2 separate regions of the Homo sapiens genome follow, and region 2 is linked to region 1. Evidence: promoter capture Hi-C in 16 types of primary human blood cells and fetal thymus (Javierre and others, 2016). All regions are on one chromosome and are shown on one strand. The core of a region is centred on a gene start or on the middle of the fragment in contact, and the rest is flanking DNA. Distances in the headings are between cores, read along the strand shown. Region 1 holds the start of CRACR2A (calcium release activated channel regulator 2A). Region 2 holds the start of AKAP3 (A-kinase anchoring protein 3).

Evidence for each region. Contacts are between HindIII fragments. The CHiCAGO score rates a contact against its expected background, and 5 or more counts as called.
Region 2: a contact is called between the fragment with the promoter of AKAP3 here and a fragment that was not itself captured in region 1, in 1 of 17 cell types (total CD4 T cells). The highest score is 5.7, in total CD4 T cells.

The regions. Positions count from the first base shown.
Region 1 is chr12:3,747,936-3,755,776 of GRCh38, reverse strand. It overlaps CRACR2A (calcium release activated channel regulator 2A), which reads left to right and starts at 2,668. Exons shown (of 20, transcript NM_001144958.2): 1 at 2,668-2,762. RefSeq lists a silencer at 2,434-2,933. The HindIII fragment of the contact is 9,621 bases long and covers 1-7,493 here.
Region 2 is chr12:4,647,801-4,655,641 of GRCh38, reverse strand. It overlaps AKAP3 (A-kinase anchoring protein 3), which reads left to right and starts at 6,591. Exons shown (of 6, transcript NM_001278309.2): 1 at 6,591-6,897. It overlaps NDUFA9 (NADH:ubiquinone oxidoreductase subunit A9), which reads right to left and starts at 6,528. Exons shown (of 11, transcript NM_005002.5): 1 at 6,467-6,528; 2 at 1,180-1,350; 3 at 720-817. The coding sequence starts at 6,515. RefSeq lists enhancers at 6,103-6,758, 6,627-6,836, 7,117-7,166. The HindIII fragment of the contact is 2,310 bases long and covers 5,551-7,841 here.

The sequences.
Region 1 (7,841 bases), core at 1,434-3,933:
TCAAAAATTGTTAAGATTTCAAGAAGGTGGCAGGACAGCATTAAACTCTGTATGAAGCCCTTCTAAGTGAGTGGCCTATGTCAGGGGTCCCCAACCCCAGGCCACAAACCGGTAATGGGGTACTGGTCCGTGAACCCTATTGAGAACTGTGCATGTGAGGGATCTAGTTTGCACACTCCTTATGAGAATCTAACTAATGCCTGATGATCTGAGGTGGAACAGTTTTATCCTGAAACCATTCCCACCCCCCACTCCCACCCCTGGTCCATGGAAAAATTGTCTTCCACGAAACAGGTTCCTGGTTCCAAAAAGGTTGGGGACCTCTGGCCTATGTGACTTCATAGGTCATATGCCCAGGAAGCCAGCCTTGCCTCGGTCTTATTCGTCACCTAGAGAGAGCTCAATAAATCCTCATTGAATAAACGAGTTTGGGTTTCTCCTGCAACACTGAATCATGTAATCATGGGGAAAGAGGAGGTGGAGATCCTCATCCTTCCCATGGTCCAGGCTAGCTCCATAGCCTGGGGCCAATCAGTGAGTATCAACTGTGCCTCAGTTTCCTACATCCATACATTGGAAGAACCATCTTTTCCCTGTCGCTTTTCTGCCACGGGCCAAGAGTAAAAGAGGCACGAATGTACAAGCTGAACTTGCAGCAGTTAATGTGATGGCTCTGTGATTCTGAAGGGCACCATGAGGCGTGGTGTTCTGTTAAAGAAAACGCCAGCAAATTAGAGACATCCCCATAGAAGCCAGAAGATGTGGTTAATGTTTGCAACATGAAATGTCTAGGTGTTCTGAGGTGGGCTAAAGGACAGTTGCTTTTCTTCCCTATTAAATAGGTGGTTAGACTCAGACACAAGGGAACAGGAAGCAGAATGGCATCAGAGACAAAGATGACTGCATGGAGTTTGGTGAGAAACCATCCTCAAAGCAGCAATTTTTTGGATGAGTCTCAGCCTTTCTGAGCCTCTGTTATTCCAACTGTGAAGTGATACAATTAACAATAACAAAAATTTGATAAGAGCAAATACATTTGGCATTTTTAATGAACCTACTACTATTCTAAGCCCTTTAAAGATACACATTTATTTCGATTCATAGAACACCCCATGATGCAGGAGCTGTTACTATCCACATTGTACTGATGGAGAAAGTTCCAGTAACTTGCCAAGGACGTAGCTGGCAAGTTGGAGCACTGAGATTCAAACCCAGGGCTTTGGCCTCCAGAGTCTGTGCACTAACCACTGTAATACCTCTGAGACTGTAAGGGGCAAATGAATGACAACGCATTGATTTAGAAGTGAAAGGCGATCTAAACGTGCAAGTATTAACACTATTAAAAACAACAATAACAATGGTAGGTACCTCCGATGCCTCTGACCTTATCTCTCTGGTCACAGTTTTCTGCTCTGTAAAATGGGTGGGCAGGCTTTACACTGGATAATCTCTGAGGCCCCTTCCACTTCTCAGATTCTGATAATGAAATGTCCTTCTTTCCTCACATAAGGCTGAGAGAAGGTCAAGCCACCAGCTTGCAGACCTTGGGAGTTGACACAGGGAAGCATACCCAGGACAGAGCCAGAAAAGCCAAGGCACGCAGTAGGGACACACCAGAGGGCAGGCCTCAGAGCCCCTGACAGCCTTCTGAAACTCTGGCAGGGTGGAGGGAGGTTGTGGGCTAGTGGCTGGCTGGGCTGCAAGGAGAAGAAAGGACTCCACAGAGTAATTTATAACAGCTGCTCAGTAAGTGCTAATTTGTTTCTCTCCACCTTGGAATAGGACTTAGCGCGTGTGAGAGGGGGATGCTACTACATAAACCAGTACCAGAAAGATGGGCTTGCCAGGAAAGAACTGGGGCACTCTGCAGGGGCAGTGTCTGGGGAAGGGTTCTCCAAAAAGGTGACATTTCAGAGGGGCCTGGATGGATGAGTAGGATTTCAACAGGCAGAGATGAAAGGGGAGGGTGTTCCAGGCAAAAAGAAGAACTCCCAGCAGCCATGAAGAACAGCTGGTGTTTGGCAACAGCTAGTGTGTCCAGAGCGAAAGTGTTGTGTGTGTGTGAGGGAGAGAGGGTGAGGCTGGAAAATTAGGTTGTGGCCGGAGAGGGCAGGGTGGGCCTTGCCTTGTGCGCTAAGCTGAGGGGTTATCCTGCAGCCGGAGCACCTCGGGAGGCCTTTGAAGATTTACTCAGTGCTTTATTAACAAATACGTATTGGGTTTTTGGTGTTTTGTTTTGTTTTTAACGATTCATGCCCACAGTAGAATATATAGAAGAGTCAGAAAAGTATAAAGAATAAGGATCCCCTTTAGTTTCTGCTCCCAGAGGTAACAGCCGGAGTGACGCCGGGCTGCTGCCGGGTTTTCGGGGGTGCACTCCCAGACACCACCTCTCCAGTGAGCCAGCGAGGGCCGGACTGATGCCCCACCTTGGGAGCCTGAATCGGGGCAAGGGGCCTAGGGAGCAGCGGGACCCCGGAAGCCCGACCAGTCAGGCCGGCTAAGTCGGCAGCCGCCCCGCCCTCGCCACCCAGCCTCCCTGGCGGCCTCAGGTCGCGCCTGCAGGCCCGGACCCCACCGCTTGGCGCGCGCACGTCCCGGAGGGCGTCCAGGGGGCGCCGCTTCCCGTTCAGCTCCGCTGAGGGGCTGGTCCAGCCCGCGCGGCTCGGAGCGGAAAGAGTCGGGCGGAGCAGGCGGCTGCTTGACAGCTGAGAGCCGAGCGGGCGGCGCGGGCAGGTCCACGGGAAGCCTACACGCCCAAGGTAACGTGGAGGAAGGTTGAGGGTGGGCGGCCGGGGCGGCCGGGGGGCGGCGCTTCCTGCCTGCTCCTCCGGCTGCGAAGTGTGAGCGCGTGTCTGCCGCACATGGAACTCGCAGAGGGCCTGGATGGAGGCTGTGTGCCCTTGGGGGGGAACAGCTGGCTCCCCTGCCACCCCCAGGCCTGGCCTGGCCCTTGCTCCCCTCCCTGTCACTCGGTAACGGGACTGGAGGAGAGCCGAGAAGCACTAGGGTTTTGGTCAGGAAAGGACCTTAGGAACCCTCCAGCCTCATCCAGCCTCTTCATTTCACAGATGAGGAAACTGAGGCTCAGAATGGTAAAGTGACTTGCCCAAGGTCTCAAGTCTAAGAACCAAAACTCCTACCTTGCAGGTCAGTGCTACTAGGAGCCCTGGCCACGCAGGCAGCATCCACAACTGTTGCCATGCCGAGAAACAAAGAACCGAGACAGACAGTCAGAAAGACACAGAGAGAGAACCTCCCAGAGCAAAGGAAGGAGGTCAGGAAGTGGGCGGCTGCTGGGGCTTGGCTTCCGCCCTGGCCCCCGCGTGTGCTGGCCTGGCTGTGTGGCTCAGAGGCGTTGTGCTGACTCTGTCCGTGTGTGTGTGTGTCCGTGTGTGTGTGTGTCTGTGTGTGTGTGTCCGTGTGTGTGTGTGTGTGTCCGTGTGTGTGCGAGTGTGTGTCTGTGCACCCATGCATGCACGGGATGCAGCGAATGTACCCTGCCACGTGGGAAAGCCCTCTGAGTTCATTTATCTGTTTACACAGTGTGCTTAGGAACCTGCCCTGTTTGGCTCTGTGGAGGACACCAGGAGTCTCAAAGGAATTCGTTCTGTGTGACTCAAGAGGACAGAAAGAGCCAATCCGTGGGAGTCCCCAGGGTGGTCAGAGGGTCAGGAGGAAGAACCTAACTCATGAGGTGATGGGTTCCTTGTCTCTGGAAGAAAGCAGCATGTACCGAAGAGTCTTTTTATCAAGGATGTGGGCATAGGGATATGAAATCAGAGCAGTTTGCTCCACGTGGAATCAGCATTTTTGTTGAAGGGTCCAGAGTTCATGCCCCTTTTCAGGTGAAATGAATATGTACAACCTCATGGTTTAGTATTTGCCCATAAGAGCTACTTCATGCGCAGTTTTTAAGTGATAAGTGAGAGGCTTCAGGTATGGCTTCCGAGGTCCTGTCACCTCTCGGTTCTATAAGTGAGAGGCTTCAGGTACGGCTTCCGAGGTCCTGTCACCTCTCGGTTCTATACTATAAAGTGTGTAGAGGGAGTTTGGAGGAGGGAGGTTACTTCTGGAAGGAGTGACTCGCAGAGGGCGTCCTGGATGTGGCACTGAGGCCGGGCCTTGAATAGGAGGCTGGGTCTGGGCATCTTGGGGAAGGACGGCTGAGCAAAGCCGTGAAGGTGGGTTGTACCTGAGGAGCAAGGAGTAATGTAGTGGACAATCCGGTGAGGAGTGCTGCCTGGGAGAGATGGCAGAGGCTTGGAGTGTTACGAGTCTAGAAACTTCATTATTAAGCCTAGGGATATTTTGATGGTTTCTAAGAAGGGAAGTGTTGTTCCTGGAGCTGGGTTCAGAAGAACATGTCATCTGCACCTGGGTATGGGATGTACTGCAGTGGAGGAAGCTGTGGGAAGAGAACCTGGGAAGAAGCCCATTGCAGTCACCATGAGGGGTTGAACAGGGCTGGTGGGAATGGACAGGAAGGGGCTAAAAGGCTTGGGGGTAGGGGAAAAGTCATCTGCCATGTGCCAGGGCCTGTGGTAGGAGATTTTCATGTTTAATCTCATTTAATCCTCCTGACAACCTCATGAGGAGATTGCTATGATTGTTCCATATTGTAGAGGAGGAAACTGAGAGAGAGGTTAGGTGGTTTATCCAAGGTCATACAGAAAATAAGTGGTGGGATGGGGATTTTAACCCAGAGAACAATGGAGTAGATGCAATCTGGTAACTGAATAAATGTCAGGGACCAGAGCAGAAGAGACCAAGATGATGGCGATTTGGATTCCAGAGTTAGAGTGGCTGGTGATGCCACTGACAGAGATGGAACCCCAGGTGTGGGGGGTGATTGGAGATGCGTCACGCTGTGGTGAGCCTGCAGAAGGCAGGCCCCAGCACTGGGGCAGTGGCCGCAGTAGCCATCCATTCTGCCTTGGGGCTCCTTGTTGCAATGGTTTGCTGAACCTGTTGTGGGGAGGGAGGGTTGAATCTGCAGGCTGCCTGGGTACTGGCAATGCAGCTGAGAGAAGCTAGGGGAGAGCTAGTGAGGGATTCCTCAGGGACAGGCTAATCACCCACTGAGTTCACATCTCTCTCTTGCTTTTCTTCCACACAAAATAGTGTCTATTTTGTTGCAATGCACAGAGGACTCAGGCACTTGCCATGATACCTTAGGTGAGAATTAGTTCAGATTTTATATTTTCCAAGGCCCTGTTTCCCTCGTATGTTTCCCCTAGAGAAGAGCTAAAAGATGTAATTGCCAAATATTGCAGAATATTGCAGAATTCAGGATCTTAAGAGCAGGTCCACGGCCTCTTACAATGTCATAGAATCACGGTGTTCTAGAGACAAGTCTGCCCTATTTTACGGATGGAGAAACTGAGTCTTTGCGAAATCATGGTCCTTTGTCAGCTGTTAGTGAGTGGCAGAAATGGGTCCAGGCCCTTGGGCTCCAGAGGTTTTGCTTTCTGCACTGACACACATGGAGGCCGCTGTCTTGCAGAGGAGCCTCCAGGGTTTCCTGTAAAATAGCCCTGGGGGCCAGGCTTGGTGGCTCACACCTGTAATCCCAGCACTTTGGAAGCTGAGGCGGGTGGATCACCTGAGGTCAGAAGTTCGAGACCAGCCTGGCCAACGTGGCAAAACCTCATTTCTACTAAAAATACAGAAATTAGCTGGGCTTGGTGGCAGGCACCTGTAATCCCAGCTATTCAGGAGGCCAAGCAGGAGAATTGGTTGAACCCGGGAGGCGGTGTTTGCAGTGAGCTGAGATTGCGCCATTGCACTCCAGCCTGAGTGACAAGAGCGATACTCCGTCTCAAAAAATAAAAATAAAAAATAAAAAAAATAGCCCTGGGGACAGTTCTATAGACAGGTCTAGCATTCAATGGACCATTTCAAACTGGTACACTTTTTGTTCCTACCAACACAACACACACACACACACACACACACACACACACACACACACACACACAAAGAAACAGCAACAACAACAACAACAAAAACCAGCACATTGTTCCACTCATCCATCTATTGGTCATTTCTTTGCCTTTTCAAATCGCTTCCTTTCCTCTGAGAGAAATTTGATAAGGCACAGTTTAGTTAGAGCCATAAAGGGTTCCGTCCAAGTACAGGGTCAGGGGGAAGTCCCAATAAAGCCAGACGGTACCTGTGTGCACCAGCAGAATCCTAAGGCACGGACAGGGAAGCAGGAAAGGAGAGGATGGCTGTAAGGATCAAGGAAGGAGAAGAGACAAAGTGCAGAGAAGAAGGAAAAGAGGAAGAGCTGAGTTTGTGGAGCAGACAGCTCAGTGGCATGGGCAGAACCTACTTTGGGGACCTATATTTTGGGAACCTGGCTCCCCAGTACTCAGAGGCAGCATGAAGCAGGGAGATAACCAGGTGGACATGAAGAAGCCAAAGGGAGTCACTCTTATAATACATCATCCAACCTCGGGCACTGCCGGGAGTGAAAGGGGGAATATTCATAGCAATGCTGGGACCACAAGCATAGCCAGGATGTTCCAGGCAAACTGGTCACCTTCACAAGAGCAATGCAAAGAAAGTGCCAGGCATGGCCCAAGGGCTGTCCATGTATTCCCTTATGGAAGCCTCACTACAACCCAATTGGCTAGGCACTGCCATCATGCCCATTTTATAGAAAAGTTAACTGAGGAAGAGAGAGGCACAGTATCATGTCTATGGTCACACAGCCGATACACGGTAGAGGCAGGATTTGAACTCAGGCAGCTTGGCTATTTCAGAGCCTGCACTGTAAGCGTTATGCTCCATTGGCTCTCTACTCACCAACAGCATCCACACAAAGACACCCCCTTCCCCTCACAGGACTCAGGAGAGGGACCTTTGGGGTCTGTTTTCCCTCACAGCTGCTCCAACTGGTCAAGTTAGCATGACGTCATCCGGATGACATAAACAAATTTGCAGTCAGGCTGAGGTGAGGGGGAGGACAACCCTCAGTCAGGTTTGTCCTCTACAGGCTCCACACCTTGTACACAGTGCTGAGTCTTGGCCTCAGGTGTTGGAGTTCTCAGTCATCCTTGCCTTGTAACTGCTCTGCCCTTTCTCTGAAGGCTGAGTTAGATACAGGAAGGACCTCTTGAAGTTCAATATTAGGGACGGGTTCCTCTAGGACCTCATCTGCCTGGGGCAACTAGAGGGTGCCACCCTGTGATGACAAAGTTATCTCCAGGGCCTCTTCCAGCTTGAGGGCTATAGAATTTTCTTTTGTGACAGATTCTTCAGGAGACAGAGCATCCCCCTTGTCGGTGTGTTTTGGCTCCCAGCCCTGGCTTTCTCGGAATGCCAGCGGGACACTTTCTTCCCTTGTCTGTTTGTTGACACATCCTGGATGGGGCTGGCCAAGGGAGGCATTTATGGGGCAGCAGGCTCTATGGTGGGTGGAGTCTGACTCTGGGTGATGCTCCAGGTGTTTCTAGAAGATGCATGGAGGTAGGAGCAGGCAAGCTTCCCCTGTGGTTCAGATTCCAAGGGCCTCTGTCCCCACCCCATCTGTGCTGAAGATCCCTTATTCACACAATAGAGCTGCCCTGCCTGGGGGTGGAAAAATGTGAGGCTGGGCCTGAGAACTTGTGGGAAAGTGGAAACCGTGTTTTACCCAAGCAAGTCCCAGCAGTGAGGTTGGATAGGCTTAACACCCAGTCCTGTGCTCGTAGTGTACCCCTGAGCCTGTGGAACTCTGTGCCCTTCTGGGTGCACCCCTGAGCCTGTGGAACTCTGTGCCCTTCTGGGTGTACCCCTGAGCCTGTGGAACTCTGTGCCCTTCTGGGTGCACCCCTGAGCCTGTGGAGCTCTGT
Region 2 (7,841 bases), core at 5,342-7,841, 900 kb before region 1:
TGTGATTTTTTTATGTTTATAGAGCACTATTCAATAGAAATATAACATGAGGCACATAGGTAAAAAAGAAACAAGTAAAATTCATTTTAATAATACATTTTATTTAACCTAATATATCCAAAATATTATTTTAATATGTAACAAATATAAAAAATTGTTAATGATGAATCGTATATTGTTTTCTTCATACTGAGTCTTTGAAATCTAGTGTATATTTTATACGTACAGCATATCTCAATTCAGACTAGCCACATTTCATGTGCTCAGTAGCCACATGTGGCCAGTGGCTACCACACTGGACAGCACAGGTCTAGAGCAGGGATTGATAAACTATAGTCCATAGGCCAAATTCAGCCTGCAGCCTCATTTTGTAAATAAAATTTTACTGAAATGCAGCCATGCCCATTTGTGTACATATTGTCTATGGCTACTTCCAGTTACAAGGGCAGAGCTGAGTAATTATGACAAAGACTCTACGACCTGCAAAGCCAGAAGTATTTACTCTCTGTCCCTTCAAAGAAAAAGTTTGCCAACTGCCAATCTAGAGCTTGCATGACAAAGGAGATGCCGGAACCTAGCTGAAAGAATGACCTGGGAACAGAGGATGCCTTTGGTCCATTCTGGGAAGAAATTACTGCTTTATTATACTGCCTATCACTCCTAAAAATGACCTTAGTAATTTATATTTGTCAACTTCATTCAGTCATAAAGGCCCTTACCAGAAACAGAAGCTGGCCCAGGTCACCCATGGGACGAAGGTGCATGATGTCATATTTATCACACCGATAGGGTATGATTACCTGTGACCCCATGCGTCCTAAAAGAGAATGGATTGAAAAAAGGATCAACATTAACATAATGTGGATATATTATACAATTGTGACTTGGTAAATATTTAAATTCTAGTATGGTATGTGAATTGATATTATATTTGACAAAAAGAATATTTTGCCATGCTAAAGATGCCATAGCTTTTCAGAGTCCCTTATTCCTATCCTAATAATTCCTATATAGGAGCATGAGTGTGCTCTTCATGTCACAACAAATAAAAATTACATACATCCAAGACAGGAGTAATTCATAATACTGTTAAAATGAAGAGAAACATAGCTCATGCTTCTCATCAGGCAATCCTGATCAATGGCAATGGAGCATATGAACTTAAGGAACTTTACTTACCAAGGTGGTTGACAACATATCGCCCCAGGAATCCTGTTGCTCCAAACACAGTGGCCACAATCCCACTGACTGAGGAACGTCCACCTTTCCCATGAGGCATGAGGGCATGATGAAGCTGGCGACAGGGTGGGCCGTGACACACAGATGTGGCTATTGCAGTAATGGCAGAACCTTAAACAAAACCCCAAAGTATACAAGCATGGCAAATATTAATATTTTTAAAACTGTCAACACAAATAGCTCCTTTCTCTAAAAACTTGTAACATTATTTTGCAATCAGTACTTTAGCAATTTAAGTATCAAGGGCAATAATAAACACAAACTACTACGACACAGAATCCAGAGGACATGAGGAAATATACTCCCTACCCTATACAATGTAACTTACCTAAGAAGATAAGTCACATTTTTTAAAAAACATATTAAACAGTCACAAAGTAGGAAAGCATAAGCCTATACGGTAAAAGGAACTGAGAATATGTAATAAATGAGCAATAAATCACATTACCATGAGGAAGTATTCCTGGATAAAATGTTTTGAGAAAGGTCTTAAAAGAGGAAAAAAAAAAGAAAGGACAGAATCCCATGAGGAACACATCACAATGCAGAGGTAGAATGAATAAGCCTACAGCACAGGGCAACAGCAAAAGACTCTCCTGGAACAGAATCTGAAACTGGTGACTAATGAAAAATAAGGTTGATGATACTGGTCGGAAGCAGATGATTATTAGTACAGAACATTAAAAAAAAAAAAAAAGAATGCAGTTCAATAGTTCAGACTTACTATAAAACCACTGAAGAACATCACAAATAATGATAAAAGGAGTGAAGTGCTTGAGAAAAGATATTCTGACTTTTAGAAAGTTTAACAGCAAGAGACTTGTCAAACATTCCACCATTTCTTTTTCATTGACTGAGGTTCTTGGTACTAGAATGAACCCTCAAAGTTCATGTACCAATGCTTACATCTTCTCTACAGCATGTGTGCAAAGAAATCATCTGGCTTTTGCCTGAACACCTGTGGAGTTGGGAAACTCACTACTTCCTGTAGCTGCCCATTCTGCTTTGAGCCATTCTAACAGAAAGAAAGTTCTACCACAAGGGGAATCAGTGACTGCTTCCCAGAAGTTTTTATCCCTGTGTTCCTCCAGAATGACAAAGAACAAGTCTAATCCCTCTTCTACAATTAAGTGTAGCAATTATAGCCCCACTAAATATTTTCTTCTCCAGGTTAAACATTCCCTGTCCTGTCAAATATTCTTCATATGGCAGGAATGAGAATCTCTTTTGGATACATTCCAGTTTTCAAGTTATTGCTAACTCCTTAGAATAGAATTTTAGAGTTAGCTGCTCAACTTTCATGTAAGTAGAAACAAAAAGGTTTAAAGTGCTAACGCACTTCTGCTCCAATCAACAAACTTCGGAGCTTAGCATTCGTGCTTTGTACACTTGGGAGAGGTGAAAGACACAAACAGGACTTTCTTTAGAAAATCTGTGTTTGTTTCTAGGGATGACTTTCAGGTGGCATTCTGCCCAAAGGTCATTGTTCTTCCCTATCCAAAAGTATTGAATTGGAGAAATAGCCTAGCTCACTGATAGTGACAGAAATTAAAAGTAAACATCATGGACCACACATCATAATAACAAAATAATAACATCATATTAACAGCTACCTTTACAGAGCTCTTGGCAGGTGTCCAGCATTATTCTAAGTGCTGCATAGGTATTATCTTTTTTAATGCTATCTTTATCACCACTTTATGGATAAGGTTAGTGACTAGCCCAAAGCACTAGTAAAGGAGATTAAAAAGCAGTCCCATGAGGTAGGAGAAAAACTCAGAAGGAAACAGAATCTAAAAACCCAAAATAAGAAACTGTTTCAAGGAGAGAATGGTTAACTTTACCAAATGCTGAAAGTGAAGTAGGAAGAGGACAGAGGACCACAGAAGCTGGAGGATGTGGCTGTAGGTGGCATAAATAAGAGCAATTTTATTGGATTAGTGGGACTGAAAGCCAGACTGGAGCAAACAAGAGAGGCTGTGAGGCAAGGAAGTAGATGAGGAGTATACACAATCCTTCTGAAAAAGGAGAAATGGAACTAGAGAAAACAAGGACAGGAATAGGTTTGTTTGTTTGTTTTAAATATGAGTTAACATTTATGTGCTGATGGAAATGACATGATTTCCATGGTAGAGGTAGAAAATTACTGATTCAGGAAAGGGAATGAATAGTTGAGAGAGGATAAGATTGAATGCAAAGTGAAGGAACTGGCCACAGATTGGAACAGAAGGAGCTCACCCACTGTAACAAGAGAAAAGGCAAAGAATTATCACATATCAACTATTAGAGTTTATGGTGGGAAAATGACTGTTCTCATCTGATTCCTTTGATTTCTCTGTAAAGCTGAGAATGAGACAAAAGCACATGTTAGAGGTTTTAGGAAACTCGCTATGTTAAGTAATGATTATGGAGACAAGGAAACCAAATTTCCTAGAAAAATGTAGCACTGAAAATCTACTTGAGATTTGTATTCATGAATTTAAAATAAGGCCAGTTAGTCTGAAGTTTTCCCTAGCCCCGTTCTCCATTGCTCAGTGGCAGGCAGCAAATTACGTGGAAAGTTTTGTTTAATCAGGGTCAATGTTTTTTACGACAATGGGAGTTGGGCTGGGGAGTTGAGGATGCATAAAAGGGAATGATAAGAGTGAAGAGTAAGGAAATGAGGACATAGGATAAGACAGGCAAAAGATGGCAGAGTCAATGAACTGGGAAGAATTACTTGAGTTGAGGAATTAATACCTCAAAGGACTGTTAAGAGGATTAAACATACATAAACCACGTAGCACATTACCTAGAGCACATTAAGCATTCTATGAATAATAGTTGCTTTTATTACTTTGAAATTTCTCAGAAGGTAATGTCACACTAACCTCACATGGCTATTGTTTTTTTTTAATAATTATGGGCCAAGAATTATTCTAGAAACTGTGACTATCACAGTAAAATACAAAACCCTGGCTTCATGAAGCTCACAGTTTAAAGGGTTAATGAGAATAACATATGGGCAAGCATCTGTCACAGTGCCTTGCAAATACTAGGTGCTCAATAAATATAAATTATTACTCTCTTTGGTTCCAGCCTCTCCACTTTCTTCCATTTATTATGAGTACTATTAGAAGAATGATATTCTTTATTAATTATATATTCATTATATTTCTCTGCTTAAAAACCTACATTAGTTTCCTACTGCAATACCCAAACCAATAGTCCAGACATATTTGCTTGCACACTGCATTAATTTTTTTAAGTATTTATTTAAAAAATTATATGCACGTTCTATGTAGTACCAATATGATATACACATTATAAATCATACATTACTTAGAATAGTGTGTGGCATACAGTTTAAACTACATAAGTGTTAGCTATTATTACTATAGAAAGCAATTTTTAGGAGTTCTAATTTATATTTCCACAACTTATTAGGTCCTCTTGCACAACTCCCTTTGGAGACTACCGATCTAAACTCTGCTTGGCTTTCAAAGGTCTCCATTGTCTGATCCCATCTAACACATTCAACCTCCTTTTCCACTATCCCAGATATTCAGGTAGTCATTTCACTGCCTCTTGAATACCTCATGACTCCATTCTCACCCACTTGTCTTTGCCAGAGGACTTTCCAGATCATAACAGCCCTAAAGAGACCAGTGGGAGCACTACAATTCTCCACTGGTCTTCCAATCATCCCTCAGTACCTCAAATGATACTAATCTTTCCCTTTTATGATTTCCTGTGATACTTAATAGTCTTGCCACACTTAACTATATATAGTTGTCTTACACAGTTCTGTCCTATAGTGTGTGGATTATGTTACATACTAGACTTGCCTCTACAGAATTTACTCAAAAACTTACTTTACCAGACAATAACGCAGAGTGGTTAAGAACACAAGCTATGGTGTCAGTCAGAGGAAAGTAAGTTAAAAGAGGAAAATTAATAAAAATACCTAGAACTGGAGATTGCAGATAGCAGGTACTCAATAAATAGTGATTACCATTCACAATCTACATTACGTCATACAATTGTAATAGTTTAACAAGAACCAGCAAATGTCTTTGCAAAGACATTGTGACTACAAAACCATCCACTATAAGTGATGTGCACCACCACCTTCCCAGTGGTATGCAGGAGTTCTACCCAAGATGGAAAACAAAAAAAAAAGGATCCTCTAAACACTCCTAATTCTTGCCTCAGGCTGAACATCAAGCCTATCTGTGGTGCTTTTAAAAATTTAAGGTGCAAGGAGCTAATCTCACAAATTCTGACTCAATAGCTCTACACTCAGTCCTCATTTCTAATTTTTATAAAGCTTTACGAGTGATTCTGACATGAGCCAATTTTGAAAGCAAATGATATTCTGTAACGACTAAAATACACTAAGAAAAATACAACTTTGGGGGTTTGATTGGAATATGTTTGTGGAAGAGTAGAGGGTGAAAGGACAATGATGAAGTGTAACCGTATTTCTAATTTCCTTGCTTTTTAGTGAGTGGAAGGACAAATGTATGTTTTCAGTTTGAGGAGTGGGAGCAGATCCAATCAGAACAGAAGAGAAACTAAATAATGCTAACAAATTCTAACATAGCCTTCATTCTTCACTTTCCTTTCCACCAAGCTCCTGATTCTTCTCTCCTCAAACATCACTCTCTCCCCCAGACCCCAACGCACTTTGCCGAACACATTCTACATCCGTAGAGACGCTTTTGGGTAAAAGGATGCTTTTACAAATATTAGCTCATTTAATCTTATCAGAGACTCCCTGGTATTGTAATATTATCATTTCCATTGTGCTCATATGAATTGAGACCCATTAAGGGTTTGCACAAGGTCATAAAATCAATCTAAGAAAACCTCTCGCCACTAGCCTTTTTTCCCTCCCTTACACATTTCTCCCCCCGCCCCATACAAATATTTCTCATAACCCTAAACCCTTACAACCATATCAGAATTCTGATTCTCTCGATCCCTAACGTGTCCCCCGCATTCTCCTCTTCGCTTACAGCTGCTTAAGATCTTTTGTCCCCTCCCAAGGTGGTGCACAATTGAATATGTGAGCCGGGGAAGCGGAAAGCGAAAGGAGAAACCAGACTGAGGCAGCTCCAAACCTAGAGAAACCAGAGTGTGCCTAGGAAGTTGGCGTGACCGCTGCAGCACGGTGCCACTTCCAAAACCTTAAATCCCCGTCTCGGAATCCCGACCAGGGGCCGCCGTTCCCGGTAACACTTACGTGACATTGACAGGACCCGGACAACCCGGGATTGTGCGGCAGCCGCCATCTTTTCCCACAATCCCCCACGACAGCACTCCCGGCTGACTACGGCTGCTAAGCTGGGTCAAAACTTACCTTTCTCGCCTGTCTGCGCAAGCGCTAACCAAGAAACGACGGTTTCGGGTAGATTGTTGGTTAAGAAGAAAGCTGGGAAAGTGAAGGAGAGGGGGAAGAAAGGAAGTGAAAAGACTTTGGCTGTTGGAATCTCAGATCTGGAATAGGCTGTATAGGCTATTTATAATCTCTAATTGCCGAGGAACCTGAAGTTCAGAGTTAACCAGTGACTGACTCAGGACATGCAAAATGGCAAGACCCGAGGTAGAAGAGCTCACCTTTCCTGACTCTCAGTTTCCTGTTCCCTGAAAATGTAAGCTAAGCTGGCAGCCCTGGTGAGTCCGGAGGAAGAAGGAGGCGTAGCCCTCCGCGCTCAGGAGATCCAGGGCCCAGGAGAGAGAAAAGGGGGGACAAGAACGAGGGGAAAAGTGGAGAAGAGAAACCAAAATAGGGTGTGTCCCAAGTAAATAAATGTGCGTCGAGCCCGCCAAGCACATTCTCTCATAGGGACCCTTGCGCCTGCTGTTCGCGTTTCCTGGAATGCACACTCAGGTGTCTGCACCAGCTCAAGTCTCTGCTCAAAAGTGACCTCTTCGGATAAAACTTCTCTGACCATCCTATCCAAGGTGGTAATTATTCCACCAATTTTTGGTTTAAGTTTATATACCAAAGCACTTATCACCAACTAGCATATGAATCTAGGAGTTCTTAACCAGAAGTGTGATTCATGAGTGGGCTTCGGGAAATCTGTGAACTTCCTGAAATATTATGCAAATTTAGTGGCCATGTGTGCCATCTGAACATCTGTCTAAGGAGAAACTGCAGATGGCTCTCTCTAGCGCAATGGCTTGTAATTTTTTCTTTAACTGTGGTCACCTTTGAGAATCTGCATTGTTCTACAAAGAGCCATCTAGAAACTGAGGAAATTCCAGGTTAGACTAAGCGCTTGGATTTTAAAATACTTTATTCTGGTCAACCTCTCCAGATTGCTGGGTAGGAGATGGCAACCAGTGATCCTGTGAAACATACCTTAGGCTTATCAGAAAACCACCTAGTTTGGGGAGGGCGGGTTCTTTCTAGACTTGGTAATCCTTCCAGTGCTTTGTTTTTTCAGGAAAAGTATGTGTTTCTGGGATAGACAAAAAGGCCTGTGATGAGTAGGGATGTAGAAGTTGCTTATTACTAGGCTTGAAATCTTGGCTGTTTCCACTCTATCTTGCCCCTACTGTTTACTGAAGTGTCGCCTAACAAATTGAATTGGAAGAGAGAAAAAAACCTT